Linked DNA regions of Homo sapiens: regions 1, 3, 4, 5, 6 and 7 are each linked to region 2. The links are contacts of gene promoters, found by promoter capture Hi-C in blood cells and fetal thymus (Javierre and others, 2016). All regions are on one chromosome and are shown on one strand. Each heading gives the region's core, a stretch centred on a gene start or on the middle of the fragment in contact. The rest is flanking DNA. Distances are from core to core; before and after follow the strand shown.

Region 1 (2,752 bases), core at 42-2,541, 1.7 Mb after region 2:
CGGTTCGGTCCAGGCAGGCAAAGGCCAGGTTTTATAAACTGAAGGCAAAATCGGGATAGGCAGATGTTGAGTAGGCATCAGCGGAGTAGGCTCTGGTTGGGGGTTTGGCGCTGTGCATTTGTTGTGGTTACACGCTGGAGAGGAAGACATGGCTCCCGGGAGGCGCCAGTGTTGGAGGGGCTGCGCAAAGTCCTCCTTCCAGAACAGAGGCTTCGCGCGCTGGGACCTGGATGCAGTGTCTGGGACTCCGCCCTTGCGCTCTGCACCCCGCGCCTCGGCTCGGCCCCGCCCCTGCGCGTAGCCCCGCCCCTGACGCCCCGCCCCTGACCCCCCGCCCCCTGTGCTTCTTCCGCGGCGCCGTGTGGCCACGCCTCCTGTGCTCTCTTCCCCACACGCTCCGTGCAGTCTCGCCCCCGCGCGCAGCCCCGCCCCCAGCTCGCCCTCCGGCCCCGCCCCCAGCTCGCCCTCCGGCCCCGCCCCCGCCCTGCCCCGCCCACTTCAGGGCCACATTCCTCCGGCCCGGCCTCGCGCTGCGCCAAGCGGGCGGCGGCGGAGGGGCGGGCTTGGCTGGCCTGGGGCTCGGACTTGGGGCCGGAGCCGCGGGAGCCGGCGGACGCTGGACCAGGAGCCCCGACGTGATCGCGTGGCGGGTGGTCGGGTCTCCGGGTGGCCGGGTGTCGGCCCCGGGATCCGGCGGCTCGCTGGCGGGAGTCGGCGGCCTCTGCTGGGCCTGGGTCCCGGCTCCCGGCCCGGCCCGCTCCCACTGCGGCCGCCATGTGGTGCCTGCACTGCAACTCGGAGAGGACCCAGTCCCTTCTGGAGCTAGAGCTTGACAGCGGGTGAGGGCGCGGCGCGGGGCGAGCGGCCTTCCCGGGTGCTGAGCGGTGGGCTGGCGCAGGCTGTGGGGATGCCTGTGCGGGAGTGCGGGTGACCGTCGGGACCGGGCGCCCGGCGTGCGAGAGAAAGCTGCCTGCGGGGCGGGGTGCGTCCGCCAGACTGTGGGTTTGGGTGAGAGAAGAGCAAACAGGACCCGAGTTTGTGCGTGGGAGAGAGAGACGCGCCCTTGGGACAGGAGCGCTGTGTGTGCCCTGGGAGGGTCTCAGGATGGGAGTGTGTGTGTGTGATCGAGGGCCTGTTGGAGTGCAAGTTGGTGTGGGGGTGAGTTTGAGTTTGGGGGCTTGAGAGGGAAACAGTGGGACTCGGTGTGGGTGTGAGGTGAGGGGCAGGAGGGAGAGCGGAGAGTTGGTGGGAGGGTGCCCAGCGGGTCTGTGCCTGTTTCCAACTGCAGGCAGGGCCGGAGCTGCCAGGAAGGCCTCTTGCAGGCCTGTCTATTCCAGACATTGGGCCTATGTCTGGATTGATGTGTCTGTCCTGTCTGCAAGACCCCAAGTGTGTGTGAGGGTGGATGACCCTGAACAAACAGGCGTCCCAGGTGTGTCAGCAGCTTCTGTCGGGTACTCTGCCCCTGGCAGGGCCACTTGGGGGTGCACTGGGGTGTGTGGCTGCTGTTTGTGGCAGAGTGTGGATGTGAGGGGCTTTGTGTGGTGATGCGTGTGCACCTGGTGTGGTCAGGGATGGAGTCTGGTGTGTCAGAGGGGCCAACCCTTTTCTACTTAGGGGCCTGTGGGCGGCTGTCTGAGCTTCCAAGGGCCCGTGTTTATGGAGAGAAAGGGAGAAAGGGAGTGTGTGTGTATGTGCTGGGAATATTGATTTCCTCTCTGCGATGGCCAGCACAGCTGCCCCCTGAGCTATCTGCAGGCCCTTCTGAGGAGCAGGGGGGTGGGGCTAAGGGGATTTGTTGACAAGCTGACTTGGCTTATGTCAGGCCCCCTCTGGAGGAAGCCCACCTGGAGCTGTTTGATCTTTCAGTTCAAAAATTGTGCAGCGCATGTCCAGCAGTTGCACTGAGAACATGCATATGTCTCCCTCTGCCCCTTCCTCACCCCAGAGGCCTGGAGCGCTGAGCCTGAGCCTCCAAGTGGGGTTGGGGGGCTTCTCAAGGACCCCATTGCTCCTTGCATCTGGGGTGGAGGCCAGGCATGCTGCAGCTGCAAGACCATCTGTCTGGAATCAGTGGCAGCAGTCTGGACATGGGGGTCATGTTATTCATATCCCACACACACCCGCGGCCCTCATAGTCCATCAGCTGTCCCACCTGGTATTACAATTGCTTCTTACCCTTGTGGTACCAGCATCCTCATATTGCAGGAGAGCAAATCGAGGCTGAGCATTCAGTCTTGTCAGTACTAAAGCTCTGTGGTTTATTGAGTGCCTGCTATGTACCAGTCCCTGCTCTAGGCACCAGAGACACAGCAGTGAACAAAACATGGAGTCTTTGTCCTCATGGAACCAGCAGTCTAGTGGGGAACAAGAAACCATTAGCGTGCTCTCCTGGCTGCACCTCCCGCCTCCCTCTGAGCTGAAAGTAACTGGGGAGGGGTTTCTGCCCCTCCATTAGGACCATTCCAGTTGACATGTCCAGGCCACCTCTCTTGCATACTTCTCAGTCCCACATCCCTTCTCATTAGAAGTCCCTCCGGGCATCTCATCTCAATCTTCCAGCTTCAGGGAAGCCTGCTTGGATCCTTCTGTGGTCTGGGTTGGTGATGAACAGCTGCTCCCCCAGTCTCAGAACATGAGGCAGAGGTCTTGGAGGTTGAGAAGCCTCGCTCAGGTGTAGCCCATAGTTCACGCATCAGCCTCAGAGCAGGTGGATCCCATTTGCTCTGGAGCACCTGGTATGTGGTTCCAT
Region 2 (2,833 bases), core at 164-2,663:
AGCTTTCTGGTTCCTGATCTTCAAACAAAATAATAACTGGTACCAATTTTAACCAATAATAGTTACCAATAATAACTAGTACTCAAATATTGGGACACCTATATGTTTTCCTTCCTACTCACTTTGTGTCCTAATACTCTGAAGTAAATTCAAGATTAAATCAAAGGTTGGGCAATTTGCTCTGATGATGAAAAGGCAGCAGCTTTGGAGTCAAGTAGAGTGAGTGAGAAAGGGTCTATCACTAAGATTTCTTCCCCCCGCCCCCCGCCCCTTAGACGGAGTTTCGCTCTTGTTGCCCAGGTTGGAGTGCAATTGCGCGATCTCGGCTCACCGCAACCTCCGCCTCCCCGGTTCAAGCGATTCTCCTGCCTCAGCTTCCCGAGTAGCTGGGATTACAGGCGTGCACCACCACGCCCGGCTAATTTTTTTATTTTTAGTAGAGACGGGGTTTCTCCATGTTGGTCAGACTGGTCTCAAACTCCCGACCTCAGGTGATCTGCCCGCCTCAGCCTCCCAAAGTGTTGGGATTACAGGCGTGAGTCACCGCGCCCGGCTATCACTAAGATTTCTGTCTGTAAGCTGGGGAAAGCTACTTCATCTTTCCAGGCCTCAATTTCATCATCCATAAAACGGAGATATTAATAGCACCTACCTCCTAAAGCCATTGGGAGGATTCAATGAGATAGTGCATATAAAGTGCTGGCACAAAATGTGTACTTAGAACAAGTTTTCTTTCTAGAGTAGCTGATGTAATAAATCTGCTTACATCCTTTCAGACCTCACAACTCCCTATGCCTGCATTAACAACTGTTTAGTTCCAGGGAGGGCACGCTGGACACTTTCGGGTCCTGCGAAATATGTCACACTCTAAAGTTCTGGGAGGACTTTGTGGGTCCCTGGATGGAGGAGAAACCAGGAAGAGGATATGTCTGCATAGCAAAAAGAAGCTAGGGTTCCTCCTGACTGTAAGGGAGAAGGCTGACGAGGTGCAGGTCCTTGTGGGCAGGGCAGAGGTGAGGCACGGAGTTTCCTAACCCACGGGACACCAGGTTCAGATCCGTGTCCGAGGGTTCTGGCCCGGGCGCATGTCAGAGGAGAGTAGCCCAATTCAGGGTCCTGTAAGAAAACTGAACCGGATCCCCGCCGGAGAAGAAAATCCAGTTCGGGGGTTCCTGTTTGAGGGGAGAGGTCAGGTCTCTGGGTCCCCGAGTGAAGAAACAAGCTAGGTCGACATTCTTGTCTGATGGAGACACGGTGAACCCGGAGCCCGTGGAGTTACCTCATACCCTCACTCACCGAGGAGGCCGTGACGTCCAAAGGCTTTTTCCTACGGTCCATGGTCGTGGCAGAGGGTCCCGGTCCAGGAAGGACCCTTTCTACCCGACACAGGCCTCGTAAGCCTACCTCCGTCGCAACCGGAAGTGTCTTCGACAGCGACACTGAGTTTGCGTGAGTTTGCGACGCGAGTTTGTCAGCTCAGCGCCATCTTGAGAAGGTCAGAGTGTGGTGCGTATTACGTTCACCATCATTTTGGAAAGGTCATAGAGTGCGGAGGTTGACGCTAACTGCTAAGGTCATCTTGAGGGCGGAAGGTAACAAGGATTGGTGTGGGCGCCATCTTGAGAAGGGCGGAATAAAGCTTTTGATTGCGATGGACGCCATATTGGGTGGGGCGGATGTGGGGTTGGCGACAAAGATAACGCCATCTTGGGGAAGGCTGACGCTTAAGTAAGTGAACTCGAGCGTCTCGGGAAAGGTGGATTGGGAGGACCGGAAGAATCTTAACTGCAATTCCAGGACCTGCTGCCTGGCACTTTTCACACGTTAAATAGTTGGTTCTTAAAAGAGCGTACGAGATAAGGATTATTATATTAATCTTAGTAGAAATAACAAGAATAATAGCTAACATTAATGTAGTGCTTATTATGGGCCACTTTACATATTTCAGCTCTTAAGAACGTGAACTCCTGGGCCGGGCGCGGTGGCTCACGCCTGTAATCCCAGCACTTTGGGAGGCTGAGGCGGGTGGATCAGGAGGTCAGGAGTTTGAGACCAGCCTGACCAACATGGTGAAACCCCGTCTCTGCTGAAAATACAAGAAAAAAAAAAAATTAGCCGAGCGTGGTGGTGCGCGCCTGTATTCCCAGCTACTCAGGAGGCTGAGGCAGAAGAATCGCTTGAACCTGGGAGGTGGAGGTTGCAGTGAGTCGAGATCAAAAAAAAAAAAAACAAAGAACACGTGAACTCGAAAGCTGACTTTCTGGGTTGGAATCGCTCTTCACGGCTTACTGCTTGTGTGACCTTGGGCAAGTTACTTAACTTCCGTGTGCCTCAGTTTCCAAAGGGGGATATAATTTTATTTACCTAATGGGTCTTAGTGAGGATTAGATGAGTTAAATGAGCTAGTCTTGATAAAAATGTTAATGATTATGGTAGACAGACCAATCACCCTCACCCCGACTCCCAGATGTCTACCTTCTAATCCCCAGAATCTGGGTATATGGTGACCTTTATATAGCAAAAGAGAATTGGCAGAGATGATGAAATTAAAGCGATTGAGATGGGGAGCTAGCCTGGATTGTGCAGGTGGGTCCCCTATCATCAAAACCATCCTTATAAGGGGTAGACAGGATGGCCAGAGTCAGACAGAGATCAGAGATGCTTTGAAGAGGGAGAGTGGGACCACATGCCTAGGTATGCAGGAGGCCGCTAGAAAAAGCAAAGAAATGAGCCCTCCTCCAGAGTCTCCAGAAGGAATGCAGCATTGCTGACACGGTGATTTTAGTCTTGTAACACTCATCTCAAACTTCTGACTTCCAGAACTCTACCAGAA
Region 3 (2,700 bases), core at 83-2,582, 1.8 Mb after region 2:
GGCGGGCGCCTGTAGTCCCAGCTACTCAGGAGGCTGAGGCAGGAGAATGGCGTGAACCCGGGAAGCGGAGCTTGCAGTGAGCCGAGATTGCGCCACTGCAGTCCGCAGTCTGGCCTGGGCGACAGAGCGAGACTCCGTCTCAAAAAAAAAAAAAAAAAAAAAAAAATTAGCCGGGCACGGTGGCACACACCTGTAGTCCCAGCTATTCAGGAGGCTGAGGCAGGAGAATTGCTTGAACCTGGGAGGTGGAGGTTGCAGTGAGACAAGATAGCGTCACCGTACTCCAGCCTGGGGGACAGAGCGAGATTCTATCTCCAAAAAAAAAAAAAAAAAAAGATAAACAGCTTAGGCCGGGCATGGTGGCTCACACCTGTAATCCCAGCACTTTGGGAGGCCAAGGCAGATGGATCATCTGAGGTCAGGAGTTCGAGACCAGCTTGGCCAACATGGTGAAACTCCATCTCTACTAAAAATACAAAAATTAGCTGCACGTGGCAGTGCGCCCCTGTAATCCCAGCTACTTGGGAGGCTGAGGCAGAATTGCTTGAACCTGGGAGGTGGAGGTTACAGTGAGCAGAGATCGTGCCACTACACTCCAGCCTGGGAAACAGAGCAAGACACGAGACTCAGTCTCAAAAAGAAAAAAAAAAAAGAAGTTAAAAAAGCTTAGTCCAAGGTTGGGTGCAGTGGCTCACCCCTGTAATCCCAGCACTTTGGGAGGCCGAGGCGGGCAGATCATGGGATCACAAGGTCAGGGGTTCAAGACCAACCTGGCCAACCAACATAGTTAAACCCCGTCTCTACTAAAAATACAAAAATTAGCTGGGTATGGTAGCGTGCGCCTGTAGTGCCAGCTACTCAGGAGGCTGAGACAGGAGAATCACTTGAATCCGGGAGGCGGAGGTTGCGGTGAGCCGAGACTGCACCATTGCACTCCAGCCTGGGCAACAGAGCGAGACTCCGTCTCAAAAAAATAAATAAAAAAGCTTAGTCCAGGTTCTACACGAGCAGGCACTCGATAAATAGCATCTGTTATCAAAACCATTATTCATGTCCTGGCCTAATTTCCTTCACTAGGTTTAAGTCCTTGGATAGGAGAAAGGGAGGCAGGTACTGCCCTAATAGACCAGGCAAGAGGGGTTCCTGCCTGGTCTCCAGGCTTTAGAGCACTCCACTCAAGCCCTTCTCCAGCCATACCCTTCCCTACAGCATAAGAAGAGACATGCTGACCTAGAGACCCCCAACACTCCTAGACTCCATTCTGTCTGGGTATCTGGGGACCCGAGTTTCCTGCCCAATGGATCCTGACCCCTTGTCCGAGCCTGCGCAGGCCTCTTTCCTAGGTCCATGCAACCAAGGATGGCTGAGGGCTGGCTGCTGTTTGGGAGAAATGGGACAGGGTGTGGCCATGTCAGCTGGGGTTCCCCCCCCCACCCCCCGCCGTGTGCCTGCAAGGCCCCTTGCAGTGAGAGAGCCAGGGGTTGGGAGGGGCTGACCATATGCCAGTTCTATCCAAACTGTCTTGGTATAGTCAGAACTCCAAGGTGTCTGAGGATACATTCAAACCTGATTGCAGCTTTCCATTTCTAAAAAACTAATCTATAGTGACAGAAAGCAGATCAGTGGCTTCCTGGACAAGGCAGAGAGCTGGACTGCAAACGGACACAAGGAAGCTTTTGGGGGTGATGGAAAGGTTTCACGGATATACACAAAGGTCAAAACACACTGAATTGCACACTTTAAATAGTGCGGTTTATTGTATGCACATTAAATTGTTTCTTAAAAATTCAAACTTGGCTCATGGGCTGTTACTAAGATATCTTTGTCAAACTGGGAGAAGAGAACATAGTCTAACAGTTTAGTGGCATGACTTAAAATTGTAATTACCAGCCAGCCTCCACGTCTCATAAGTGATTGAACCAACCCCCTTCTCTGAACCGTCTGCACTCAGCAGGGGCTCAGGCCTGGGGGTTTGTCGAGCTCAGGGCCCGCCCTGCGCCTCTCAAGCCCTATCCGGCCCCAACCTCTGCGTTTCAGGGGCTTCAGCCGCCCGCCCCAGGCCCCACCCACCACATCAGCCCAGGCCCCGCCCCATCCTCCCTACCAAGGCAGACGGCCCACCCTTAGGCCCTGGCTGCACTGCGGCCCAAGCTCCGCCCCTTTACCGAGTCATTGGCTCACCCTAAGCTCCGCCCACCATGCCAGCCCAGGCCCCGCCCCCTGCCCCCTTACCGAGGCGGTGGCCGGCCTGGCGGCCGACGCTGCCCAAACATTGGATCAGGGTGCGGATGGCAGTCGGGCTGGTGGGCACCCGCGGGCCGGGCAGCCGGTCCAGTAGGTGGTCAGCGAGCTCGACGAAGAGGTCGGTGCTGCAGGCGGCCGCCAGGTGGCCAAGCGCTCCGACCGCCCGCTTGCGCACCGCCAGGCGCGGGCTGCTCAGCTGTGGCAGCAGACAGTGCAGGAGGCTGGCGTGGAAGGCGCCCAGCGGGACACCCAGCCTGGGGAGCACGAGGGGGCATCAGGCCGATCGCACTCCGCGGGCAACCTGGGCCAGGCTCCGCCCCTCTCCCCATTCTCTCCCGGCCTCCTTCCCAGGATTATGGCAACTCAATGGCCCTTGCAAAAGAGGTGCCCTGCAACTGTGAGGAGGAATTATTTTAATTACTTTTGTTACATGAGAGAAAGCGGAGAGAGAAAGGG
Region 4 (2,771 bases), core at 258-2,757, 1.6 Mb before region 2:
TAAACGATATATTTCTTCTTGTCATAGTATGTTGCAGCATCATTGCGGATAAGCATGCTACTTGCTATTTTTCTCTTTACTAAATGAAAAAAGCAGAAGGCCTCTTCAACCTCATTCAAGACCACTAAACGTAGTTTTTCTCCATTAAATGTTCTAAGTCAATAATGTTACCTTAATCCCTGAAAGAAAGAAGTTGAAACTTACCTTAGAAGTCCACGAGATTTTAGGAGTCATTAAGTATATGGTCAGCTGATTGACAGAATATTTTGGTCCTGCTATTACACTGAGACTTTTGGATGTACAGCAGTTGGAACATGGACAGCTTTTCCATGCATTAAAATTCTCACAAAGTTCCTGCAATGGCACAAACAACATATAACAATGTTTTGGGGAACTGATCAAAAGCACTATTACCTCTTAGCTGCCAAAGGAAAGGCTCATTAAAATCAGTAGGCATCACCTCACAACAAGCCCACTCTCAATTACCCCCTCTCCATCCATTCTTTCCTCCATGCTTCCATTTTTCTTTTTTGATTATTTATCTTACAGCTTATTTTGTTCATCTTCCTTGCCTGTCTTTAACACCTGCTACTTAGGATATCCACCCCAGGAAACAGCAGACCAAAGGCTAGAATGACACAGTTACATGTCATTTAAGGCCAAGTTCCCTGATAAAATTTAACCACTATATTGTTAAATATGGAAATACTGTTCTGTTCAATGTTTTAGACAACTATTGCTAAAATAAGTTGTCCTCACAATAGGATACATCATTTAATGATTATGCTGTTTGAATGGTCCCCTTCTCAACTGAACTGGAAAACAAATGTTAATTTTAAAAGTAGTTCTTCCCGGGCACAGTGGCTCATATCTGTAATCCCAGCACTTTGGGAGGATGAGGTGGGTAGATCGCCTGAGGTCAGGAGTTTGAGACCAGCCTGGTCAACATGGTGAAACCCCATCTCTACTAAAAATACAAAAAATTAGCTAGGTGTGGTGTCGGGCGCCTATAATCCCAGTTACTAAGGAGGCTGAGGCAAGAGAATCGCTTGAACCTGGGAGGCGGAGGTTGCAGTGGGCCAAGATCATGCCATTACACTCCAGCCTGGGCAACAAGAGCGAAACTCAGTCTCAAAAAAAAAAAAAAAAAAAAAAAAAAAAAAAAAGGAGTTCTCTTTAAAATCCTAAGATTTTATTTTGTGAAAGTAACCATGACCAAGAGTGCCACCTACTGGTAAATAAAGGACATTTTTATAAAATTCTGTTTAAAGTGCTTTCCAAAGCTTTATGCCAGTCCTTTAAATAAAATATAAAAAATTTAAAACCTACTAATTTTTTGAAATATGTCCGGCGGTTCCATACTGTAAGCATTTAATCAACCACAGCAGATCAATATATATCAAGTTATTTCTAAAACCATATAAAGTAGACCATCCCATCAATGTCTGTATCCTCACAGGCCTTCCCTTACCAAAAAATCTTAATTAACTTTATTTCTGAAATGCAGAAAAGTATAATAAGTGCTAAATAAAACTGACACCCATTAAATATGTAGTAAAACAAACTTCTGAAAGCAACAGATTAAATTTAACATTTAAGATTAATTATATGGTTTCAGTTCAACAGGTATACTCAGTTCATTCAACAACTACAGGGGTGCCAGGCACTATTTTAGGCCTTGGAGATATAATAAAGAACCAGACGCAAGGCCCTTGCCATCATGAAGCTTTTATTACAGTTCCAGAGACAGATAGTAGTAAACAAATAACAAGATAATTATAGATTATGATGAGTATGATAAAGGGAGTAAGAGTGATGGGGTAGGTGGGGGAAATATCAAGAAAGACATCTCTCCAGTGATGACACCTTGGCTGAGATCTGAATGATGAGGAAAAGGCGGCCAAGCAAATGTTAAAGGCAGACAACTCTGGCAGAAGGACTAGCAAGAGCAAAGGTCCAACACAGAAATAAGCCCGGCATGTTAAAGGAACCAAGGCCAGTGTGACTGGAGAGCAGTAAGCTGGTAAGAGTGAAATGAGATGAAGTCCAGCAGTCTATAGTAAGGGTAAGAATTTTATCCTAAGGGTAATGGGAAGCAACTGAAAAGTCTGAATCAATCAGGAGAAGGACAAGACCTAATTTATATTTTTAAAGGACTGCTCAAGTTGCTGTGGGAAGGATAACAGAGGGAGAGGGGCAGGAGTGGAAGCAGGAAACCCAGTTAAAAGACTCTGGTCTAAGATTATAATAAGGTAACAGCTACAGAGATGGCAGAAGTAGATGAACATGACATATATTTTGGAATTAGAGCCCCAAAACTTGCTGATACATTAGGCAGGGTGTGAGAGGACACTGACAGAGAAAAGCCAAGAATGCCTCAATAAGCATAAATGCACTGAAATTAAGTAAGTTCAAAGAACAATCATGACATCTGTCAATTTAGAATCTTAGGTGTCACTGAGGAAGAAAAAGGGCTCCTCTTGCTCCAACAGGCAAAGACACCTTAGTGGTAAACAAGTAGTATACACAGAGTATTTGACCGGAAATCAGCGGAACTGGGCTCAGGTGTGACTCCTTCCTGCTTTCTAATCTTCAGCAAGTCTCCTCTTGCCATTTTAACATTACCCACGCCACCTCACTGGATTACTGAGAGGAATAAATAAAATGTCTACCAAAGTACCTGGCAAGCAACAGTGTTACTAAAATCAATCCTAATACATTGACCCCTTCTCTTCCTTGTCAAACAACCTAGAGAGGTGGAGGTTTGGTAT
Region 5 (2,869 bases), core at 164-2,663, 2.0 Mb after region 2:
AAGTGCTGGGATTACAGGCGTGAGCCACCACGCCCAGCCATGTCTTTTTTTTTTTTTTTTTTGAGACAAGAGTTTCGCTCTTGTTGCCCAGGCTGGAGTGCAATGACGCGATTTCGGCTCACCGCAATCTCCGCCTCCTGGGTACAAGCAATTCTCCTGCCTTAGCCTCCCGAGTAGATGGGATGACAGGCATGCACCACCATGCCCAGCTAATTTGGTATTTTTATTTTTTTATATTTATTTATTTTTTCGAGACGGAGTCTCGCTCTGTCGCCCAGGCTGGAGTGTAATGGTGCGATCTGGGCTCACTGCAACCTCTGCCTCCCGGGTTCAAGCGATTCTCCTGTCTCAGCCTCCTGAGTAGCTGGGATTACAGGCGCCCGCCACCACGCCCGGCTAATTTTTGTATTTTTAGTAGAGACGGGGTTTCTCCATGTTGGTCAGGCTGGTCTCGAACTCCCGACCTCAGGTGATCCGCCTGCCTCGGCCTTCCAAAGTGCTGGGATTACAGGAGTAATCCCAAAAAAAGCGCCGGGCCCTTTTTTTGTTGTTTTTTAAATTCAGTAACTATCTAGTTCATTCTTGGATGGATGACAACCCAGATTGGATGTGTAGCAGCGTTCTCTTAACCAGTTTCCTATTAATCTTCATTTCATCCCCAGTGTTTCTCCAGAATGCAAATAATATGGCATTAAATATCTTCACACATAGCTTTTTGTGTATGTGTATACTTATTTCTCTAGAATTAGTGTCTAGAAGTGAAACTGCCGGGAGGAAGGATATATACTTTTAACATGTCCAAGTTCCACTGTGATAGCGCTGCGAGGGCACACAACAGGTTTCAATATACCTTGGACCAAACCGGATATTATCAGTTTTTTTAACTTGTTGCTAATGTGATGGGGGAAAAATGAACTCGGAATTTACACACAAGGAAAAGACCGTTTAAGGTTCAGGGACTGTCCACATAGCTGTCAAGTGGCGGAGCCGTGATTTGGTATTAAAGTGCCCGGAGAGGACGCGTCAAAGTTGGACACTGTGCCCTGTGTCCTGAGGCACGTCTGGTGATCGCTGGGCCTTGCAATGCTGGGCAGGCAGGCCTTCCTCTCCCCTTCTAGGCCTCTGGCCACTCCTGGCTGGCCGAAAGCCGGTTCTTCTCGATTACCGAGTGCCTCTCCTGAAAGCAAGTCAGCGTCGCCTAACCTCTTCAGCTTCGAAATGGCGGCCACCAGATCGCTAGGCCACGCCCCGGGGGCGGGGCCTGAGTTCAGGCCAGAGCGATGGATGCCCGAGCCAAGTTAGAAGTCGACTGCCAGTAGGGCTCGCGCAGAATCGGAGAGCCGGTGGCGTCGCAGGTCGGGAGGACGAGCACCGAGTCGAGGGCTCGCTCGTCTGGGCCGCCCGAGAGTCTTAATCGCGGGCGCTTGGGCCGCCATCTTAGATGGCGGGAGTAAGAGGAAAACGATTGTGAGGCGGGAACGGCTTTCTGCTGCCTTTTTTGGGCCCCGAAAAGGGTCAGCTGGCCGGGCTTTGGGGCGCGTGCCCTGAGGCGCGGAGCGCGTTTGCTACGATGCGGGGGCTGCTCGGGGCTCCGTCCCCTGGGCTGGGGACGCGCCGAATGTGACCGCCTCCCGCTCCCTCACCCGCCGCGGGGAGGAGGAGCGGGCGAGAAGCTGCCGCCGAACGACAGGACGTTGGGGCGGCCTGGCTCCCTCAGGTAGGTGGCAGGACCGGGTCGTGGATGCCGGGGGAGCCGGGCGGCGGGGCTGAGGGATCGGCTTCCAGGGCGACCGGGCCTGGGTGGCGCTGATGGAGCGGCCCCGCGGCTGCCGGGCAGAGGGCTTGGGCCAGGCCGTTGTCACCCTGGGGTAGCGTTGGGCGGGGGCCCCGGAGTCCGGTGTCATGGCCGGCGAGCCGAGTTCCCACATCCCACTCAAATTTCCTTGTGTTTGGCGGAAACGTGCCAACGCCACCCTTATGCCATGCGCATTCCTCATATTTGGCAGTGGGAAAATCCGCCCAGAGCTGCCCCATATCTGTTGTCACTTGGATGGGCCAATTCCTTTTCTCTTGGGCCGCCGAATGTGGGACCCGGGCTTGCACCCTTTCTCAGGGTACTTCAGTCAAGTGACACCCTTTTAGAGACGACGTGAGGAATCGGGTAAGAGAGGAGGAAACTGGCCAGTGCCCTACCACAAAGGCACAGGGGCCTCTTCTTGGGTATCAGGACTAGCCTTGGGTATCAGGACTCTGGGTTATTAATGAAAGGTTTGGGATACTTATAGAGGATTGGCCTCAGGACGCTTTGGAATGAAGAGCCAGGGCTGTCTTTTGTGTGACGCGAGAGCCGCCGGGACGCTTCAGCTCTGCAGCTGCTGAGGCTCTGCGAGCGAGTCGATGCCCAAGAGAGAGGGGTTTGGACGTCGTGAGAGGCGAGGCGGCCGTGTTCATTCATTGTTCTCGTTCTAGGGCTCTGGGTGTGCCCCTGGTATTCATTCTGTGGTGGGAAGAAGGAATGGAACTTAGTGTATCCTTGAGATGTGAACGGGTTCTAGGGGGTCACTTAATCTAAGTGGAAAATGAATTCAAGGCACGTTCATTGAGCGTTTCTGCTTGCCTGGTCCTCTGTGGGCTGAGTGGAGAGACTCTGCCCTCCCTGCGCTCCTAAGGCGTGAAAACAATGCAGTGTGATAAGAATTGGCTTATCAAGTGTTATGGGGATTTAGAACAGTTAGTTTTGCTTGGGGAGGAGTTGAGGAAGCTTCTACACTCGAGGAGACTTCTGAGTCGAGTTTTGAAACACCTGTGAGTAAGTGCTCATCGGGTGAGGAGGAGCTCAGGGAACAGCTGGTACAAAGGCTTAGAGCCA
Region 6 (2,728 bases), core at 80-2,579, 1.6 Mb after region 2:
GCCCTGTCCTCTGAGCCTCACAACCCATCTGCTCCCCAGCTCTGGACAGCCTGCAGAGACCAGGACTCCCTGAGGCTGAGGAAGGGGTCACCAGCCTCCTCCCCACCCACGCCTTCTGGACACACCCTGGCTCGTGCTGTCTATCTCCGGGAAGAGCCCAGAGCTGAGTTTGGGATGGGCAGGAGGTCCTGGGCAGAGCAGAGCAGAGCCGCCACTTCTCTGGCTCTGGGCACTGCCTGGAGCACACATAAATTCCCTTATGGCTGCTTTCCCCTTTCACCCGTGGGCCTCACCATTGCCTCAGCCCTGCCAGCCTCACCTCCCTCTCCTCGGTTCCCATCTCTGCTAGTGACTGCCGCCCCCTCTCCCTGCATCGAGTCTTCGTTCAGGGGATGAAGACCTACTCTGTGCCTGACACTGTGCCAGGTGCTAACTATCCATTCCCACATCCAGCCAGCTAGCGCCCACCCTGTGAGGAGCACTGTCCCACAGCACAGAGGAGGACCTGAGTCCAAGGCTTTGCGTTACTGGTTTCCTCACCGGAGTTGTGGGTGAGGCTCTTCTTGGCAAGCACCACAGGGCAGCACTTGTCGCCGAGAGCTCAGAGCCCAGCAGCAAGGCGGCATGGGCATGAGCCACTCTGACACATGGGAAGAGGCTTTCTTCCGCTGATCAGCAAGTAGTTTGCTGAGCACCTATTGTTTGCTGCCCCGGGCTAGACCCTGGGGATACAGCAGTGAGTGAGGTGGACACTCAGGCCTCCTGGAGCAGATAGATGTTCAGGTGAGAGAGAAATGATAAAGAGAAAATAAACAAATGAAGATGCCTTCAGGCAAAGATCGGTGCCAAGAAAATAAAACAGGGAGGGATGACAGAGTGATCGGGGAGAGGGAGCCACATGGCCTGGGGAGGTCAAGAAGGGCCTCTCCCAGTGGCCGTCAGTGGATGAATAGATAAACACAATGTGGTCTGTCCATAGTGTGGAATATTATTCAGCCACAAAAAGAAATGAAGTTCTGGCACGTGTTACAGCACAGGTGAACCTTGAGGACATCATGCTAAGTGAAAGAAGCCAGACGGAAGACCACAGAGCGTATGGTCCCGTTTCTAGGAAATGTCCAGAACAGGCAAATCTATAGAGACGGGAGGTAGGTTTGCCGTGATCCAGGGCTGGGGAGGGGTTCTTTTTGAGTGATGAAAATATGCTAAACATAGATAGTGGTGACAGTTGCACCCCTCTGGGAATATACTATTAATAAAATCATTGAACTATACATTTTAAATGGGTGAGTTGTATGGTGTGTGAATTATATCTTAATAAGACTGTTTGAAAAGAAAACAAAGACTCGTCTGCAGTGGTGGCCTTGCGTTGAGAGTGACAGGGTGGAGTGAGTTTGTGAGGACCTTGGGGAAGAGCAGGCAGAGAGAGCAGCTGGTGTAAGGACCCTGAGGTCTGTGTGCACCTGCAGGAGGAGCACAGAGGAGGAGGCTGGCAGGAGTCGAGAGGGCGGGAGGAGCAGTCCCCGTGGTGGCAGGGCCAGATCCTGGAGAGGGCTTGAAAGTTGACTGGGGCGGGAGAGCCACGGCTGGGTAACATTGCTGTGCTTTCTGTTTTAAAACCGTCACCCGGGCTGCTGTGAGGAAATGAGACTGTGGAGAGGGAGTGGTGGGGCGTTGGGGGCAGGGAAGGCCGGTTGAGATGTGGCGGCCGGCCACTGTTTAGATGAGAGATGACAATTGAGACCCAAAGAAGGAGACAGACAGACTGGCTGGCGGTTGCAGTGGGAATTCAGACAGGGACAGAGCACTCCTGGCGGAGAGGAGGCTTCCTGGAGGAGGGGCCTGGGCCCGGACACTGGCAATGTCAGGATGGGCTGGTGGCGGCTCTCCAGATGGCACCCCTGTGGGGGATGTGGGGGGCCCTGCCTGGCCATGGGGAGACGAGACTGGCCACCCTACCCTGGCACCACCCCTGGGTCCCCTTTGGGCCCAAGCTGCTAAGTAAGTAGGGCACCCTCTCTCCAGGGACCCCTGTCACACTACTTTATGCTGCTGGCTCCAGCTGGCCCTCCGTGACAGTGCAGTGCCCATGTGGCCAGAGACCCAGAAGGGGCCCGGCACTCTGAACAAAGCAGTCTGCCTGGAACTTAAGTGGCCCTGAAACACGATCAGGCACCAGAGACTGTCCAGGGAGGTGGGTGTATTATTTATTGACTGGGGCCTGCCCAGTGAAGCCATTTGGGTTTGCCAGACCTGGAAGGAGCCCCCTCAGCAGTGCCTGGGGGCCTTTTGGAGGGCAGGTGGGCGGGGGCCCCAGGGTGCCTGGCACCCTCTCCCCTGGGTGTGGTTTCCTGGATGCCGACTGAGCAGGGAGGAAGTCAGACGTCAGGACCTGCTGTGGGGATGGACCCACAGCTCATCCCCCGGGGCCGCAGAGGCAGGCCAGGCACTGGGGTTCCAGGGACACCTCCGCCCCCTCCACTTTGAGACTGTGAGTACCACCCACCTGGCCCGGGGAGGGGACCTCAGCAGCCCTGAGAAACCTGTGAGGGGCTGGCGACTGTCAGGGCAGCCTGCCGTGGTGAGGGTCTTGGGGGCTGTCGTCAGAGTTTTCACTGTTTCTCAGAGCTGTATTCTGTGACCCGTTTCTCACTGCCTGGAATGCACACAGGCTCGCCCTGGGCCCAGGAACACCAGGTGTTTCCCCACAGCCGCAAGGGGAAGTTCT
Region 7 (2,779 bases), core at 7-2,506, 1.8 Mb after region 2:
CCAGGTGCTCTTGGCTCCATTCAGACTCTTGGGTTCTGCTCTTGACCATTTTGCAAAGAGTTCTGAACCTTCATGGGCAAGGTCAAGCACCCTGTGACTGGGGGAGAACCTTTGAACCTGGAGTGTGGGCCTGGGTTCGCCCCGGATCCCTGTCCATTGCTTGCTGTGGGCCTTGGTTTCTTTATCTGTAAAATGGAGGTAATGCCTGGATTACAAGGCTGCTATAAGGATGAGAGGGGACAATGAGGGTACTTTTTAATGAAAGCATTCTTGTCACCACCAGGGAACCATAGTCAGGATTTGGGGGCATGTAGGTGTCATTCCACAGCCACTTACCAAGCAGCCCTCTCTTAGCTTGGTGCTGGGACTCATTGCCTCTCCAATGGAATTTTCCAAGTGTGTTGAGGGCTGTCTTGCTCCTTACCTACTTGATTCTCTTGCAGATCTTACTGTGCCGAGATCGCTCACAATGTTTCCTCCAAGAACCGCAAAGCCATCGTGGAAAGAGCTGCCCAACTGGCCATCAGAGTCACCAACCCCAATGCCAGGCTGCGCAGTGAAGAAAATGAGTAGGCAGCTCATGTGCACGTTTTCTGTTTAAATAAATGTAAAAACTGCCATCTGGCATCTTCCTTCCTTGATTTTAAGTCTTCAGCTTCTTGGCCAACTTAGTTTGCCACAGAGATTGTTCTTTTGCTTAAGCCCCTTTGGAATCTCCCATTTGGAGGGGATTTGTAAAGGACACTCAGTCCTTGAACAGGGGAATGTGGCCTCAAGTGCACAGACTAGCCTTAGTCATCTCCAGTTGAGGCTGGGTATGAGGGGTACAGACTTGGCCCTCACACCAGGTAGGTTCTGAGACACTTGAAGAAGCTTGTGGCTCCCAAGCCACAAGTAGTCATTCTTAGCCTTGCTTTTGTAAAGTTAGGTGACAAGTTATTCCATGTGATGCTTGTGAGAATTGAGAAAATATGCATGGAAATATCCAGATGAATTTCTTACACAGATTCTTACGGGATGCCTAAATTGCATCCTGTAACTTCTGTCCAAAAAGAACAGGATGATGTACAAATTGCTCTTCCAGGTAATCCACCACGGTTAACTGGAAAAGCACTTTCAGTCTCCTATAACCCTCCCACCAGCTGCTGCTTCAGGTATAATGTTACAGCAGTTTGCCAAGGCGGGGACCTAACTGGTGACAATTGAGCCTCTTGACTGGTACTCAGAATTTAGTGACACGTGGTCCTGATTTTTTTTGGAGACGGGGTCTTGCTCTCACCCAGGCTGGGAGTGCAGTGGCACACTGACTACAGCCTTGACCTCCCCAGGCTCAGGTGATCTTCCCACCTCAGCCTTCCAAGTAGCTGGGACTACAGATGCACACCTCCAAACCTGGGTAGTTTTTGAAGTTTTTTTGTAGAGGTGGTCTAGCCATGTTGCCTAGGCTCCCGAACTCCTGAGCTCAAGCAATCCTGCTTCAGCCTCCCAAAGTACTGGGATTACAGGCATCTTCTGTAGTATATAGGTCATGAGGGATATGGGATGTGGTACTTATGAGACAGAAATGCTTACAGGATGTTTTTCTGTAACCATCCTGGTCAACTTAGCAGAAATGCTGCGCTGGGTATAATAAAGCTTTTCTACTTCTAGTCTAGACAGGAATCTTACAGATTGTCTCCTGTTCAAAACCTAGTCATAAATATTTATAATGCAAACTGGTCATTTTTGGGATTTTGTTTTTGAGACTCATTCTGTCACCCCGGCTGGAGTGCAGTGGCTTGATCTTGGCTCCCTGCAACTTCTGCCTCCTGGGTTCAGGCGATTCGATTAACAATTGGAGACGAGTCGTGCAGAGGAAAGAAGTAACTTAGAATCTAATCTTTATTAACCTGGGATATCACAGAAAATACTTGGGCCTGCCACTTGTATTTCTTTGTCCTCAATACTGAACACTAGACACATTTGAAACCTTCCTCAGAAGGAAACAAACCAACTGGTTATGCCTGGGTGGTGGCATGGAAGATGCCCATTGTTGCCCAATTTGCTAATAAGTATTTTGAAATTAGAAATGAAACATGAGGTCCAAGCCTGTCCAGTTCCCTACCCAACCCATTCCTCCTCCCTGGAAAAAAGAAACCCGTATCATCTTCCAAATTTCTGATTCATCACTGCCACTTAAAAATGAACCGTTTTGAATTTTAAAATGTGAATAACTCAAGTATCTTTTCTTTTGAGATGCCCGGCCTGAGCACTAACTTCAGGCATTGCTGAATGCAGTGAAGAAACCAGAGTGGTGTCTGCTGCCTCCTGATCTTTTACAGCTGACAGCACAGCCTATTTCTAAATACTACTAGTTTGTGAGGCAGAGACACCCTCTGAAGGAACCAGACAGACTATGGAGGGGTACAGTGTGAAGTCACTGGAAAACTTCCTCACCCTATTTCTTTGGATGACTGTCCTGAGTTAAGGAAGGGGCCCAACTGTTGGCAGCCTCACAGCTTGGGCTGGGGGCCTTTGAGTTGGGTCCCTGGAGAAGGCACTGTAAGCCCTGACCAGGAGCGACAGGGCCCCCAGTGAGATGGTGGAAGGGCAAAAGTAGAGACCTGCGATGGTGGGATGGGGAGGCCTCGGACTTGGGTGGGCTCCTTTCTCTTAAGCGAGGGCCCACCTTGGTGCTGAGGGGACTAGCTGAGCTCCATTGAGTCTGTGCTGGGGGCTGAAGCGGAATCCTTCTGGATGCTTTCAAAGAGGGCAGCAAGTTCAGGGTTGGATCTGATTT

The links. The method cuts DNA at HindIII sites, captures the fragments that hold promoters and counts their contacts. A CHiCAGO score of 5 or more calls a contact.
Region 1: a contact is called between a fragment that was not itself captured here and the fragment with the promoter of CCDC174 in region 2, in 5 of 17 cell types (activated CD4 T cells, fetal thymus, naive CD4 T cells and 2 more). The highest score is 7.7, in activated CD4 T cells.
Region 3: a fragment that was not itself captured here is called in contact with the fragment with the promoter of CCDC174 in region 2 in 7 of 17 cell types (non-activated CD4 T cells, fetal thymus, naive CD4 T cells and 4 more); the score reaches 13.5 in non-activated CD4 T cells.
Region 4: a contact is called between a fragment that was not itself captured here and the fragment with the promoter of CCDC174 in region 2, in 1 of 17 cell types (total B cells). The highest score is 5.5, in total B cells.
Region 5: the fragment with the promoter of RAF1 here is called in contact with the fragment with the promoter of CCDC174 in region 2 in 5 of 17 cell types (non-activated CD4 T cells, naive B cells, total CD4 T cells and 2 more); the score reaches 9.5 in non-activated CD4 T cells.
Region 6: a contact is called between a fragment that was not itself captured here and the fragment with the promoter of CCDC174 in region 2, in 3 of 17 cell types (activated CD4 T cells, naive CD4 T cells and total CD8 T cells). The highest score is 6.0, in activated CD4 T cells.
Region 7: a contact is called between a fragment that was not itself captured here and the fragment with the promoter of CCDC174 in region 2, in 1 of 17 cell types (naive CD4 T cells). The highest score is 5.5, in naive CD4 T cells.

What each region holds. Positions count from the first base shown.
Region 1 is chr3:12,965,474-12,968,225 of GRCh38, reverse strand. The region is part of intron 1 of IQSEC1 (IQ motif and Sec7 domain ArfGEF 1); the gene reads left to right. Among named protein-coding and RNA genes, the nearest start is that of LINC02022, 82 kb to the right of the region's middle. RefSeq lists an enhancer at 1-42 and silencers at 193-612, 723-772. The HindIII fragment of the contact is 2,939 bases long and covers 1-2,752 here.
Region 2 is chr3:14,650,342-14,653,174 of GRCh38, reverse strand. CCDC174 (coiled-coil domain containing 174) reads right to left here and starts at 1,413. Exons shown (of 11, transcript NM_016474.5): 1 at 1,297-1,413. The coding sequence starts at 1,338. It overlaps LOC124909347 (a long non-coding RNA gene), which reads left to right and starts at 1,054. Exons shown (of 2, transcript XR_007095826.1): 1 at 1,054-1,506; 2 at 1,949-2,833. RefSeq lists enhancers at 1,101-1,170, 1,311-1,710, 1,214-1,872. The HindIII fragment of the contact is 1,793 bases long and covers 1-1,641 here.
Region 3 is chr3:12,809,857-12,812,556 of GRCh38, reverse strand. It overlaps CAND2 (cullin associated and neddylation dissociated 2 (putative)), which reads right to left. Exons shown (of 15, transcript NM_001162499.2): 5 at 2,233-2,498. Among named protein-coding and RNA genes, the nearest start is that of CAND2, 15 kb to the right of the region's middle. RefSeq lists a silencer at 2,021-2,470. The HindIII fragment of the contact is 687 bases long and covers 989-1,675 here.
Region 4 is chr3:16,266,709-16,269,479 of GRCh38, reverse strand. OXNAD1 (oxidoreductase NAD binding domain containing 1) reads right to left here. Exons shown (of 9, transcript NM_138381.5): 2 at 205-354. Among named protein-coding and RNA genes, the nearest start is that of OXNAD1, 2.9 kb to the right of the region's middle. The HindIII fragment of the contact is 443 bases long and covers 1,286-1,728 here.
Region 5 is chr3:12,662,661-12,665,529 of GRCh38, reverse strand. RAF1 (Raf-1 proto-oncogene, serine/threonine kinase) reads left to right here and starts at 1,413. Exons shown (of 17, transcript NM_002880.4): 1 at 1,413-1,717. RefSeq lists enhancers at 1,038-1,107, 1,148-1,497, 1,109-1,720, 1,721-2,331 and a silencer at 1,688-1,907. The HindIII fragment of the contact is 11,087 bases long and covers 1-2,763 here.
Region 6 is chr3:13,015,341-13,018,068 of GRCh38, reverse strand. All of the region lies in intron 1 of IQSEC1 (IQ motif and Sec7 domain ArfGEF 1), which reads left to right. Among named protein-coding and RNA genes, the nearest start is that of IQSEC1, 57 kb to the left of the region's middle. RefSeq lists enhancers at 15-814, 1,276-1,385, 2,006-2,105, 1,391-2,158, 2,159-2,728 and 1 more. The HindIII fragment of the contact is 4,132 bases long and covers 1-2,728 here.
Region 7 is chr3:12,833,888-12,836,666 of GRCh38, reverse strand. It overlaps CAND2 (cullin associated and neddylation dissociated 2 (putative)), which reads right to left. Exons shown (of 15, transcript NM_001162499.2): 15 at 1,864-2,779. The coding sequence ends at 2,685. It overlaps RPL32 (ribosomal protein L32), which reads left to right. Exons shown (of 4, transcript NM_000994.4): 4 at 444-2,182. The coding sequence ends at 573. Among named protein-coding and RNA genes, the nearest start is that of SNORA7A, 5.2 kb to the left of the region's middle. The HindIII fragment of the contact is 762 bases long and covers 876-1,637 here.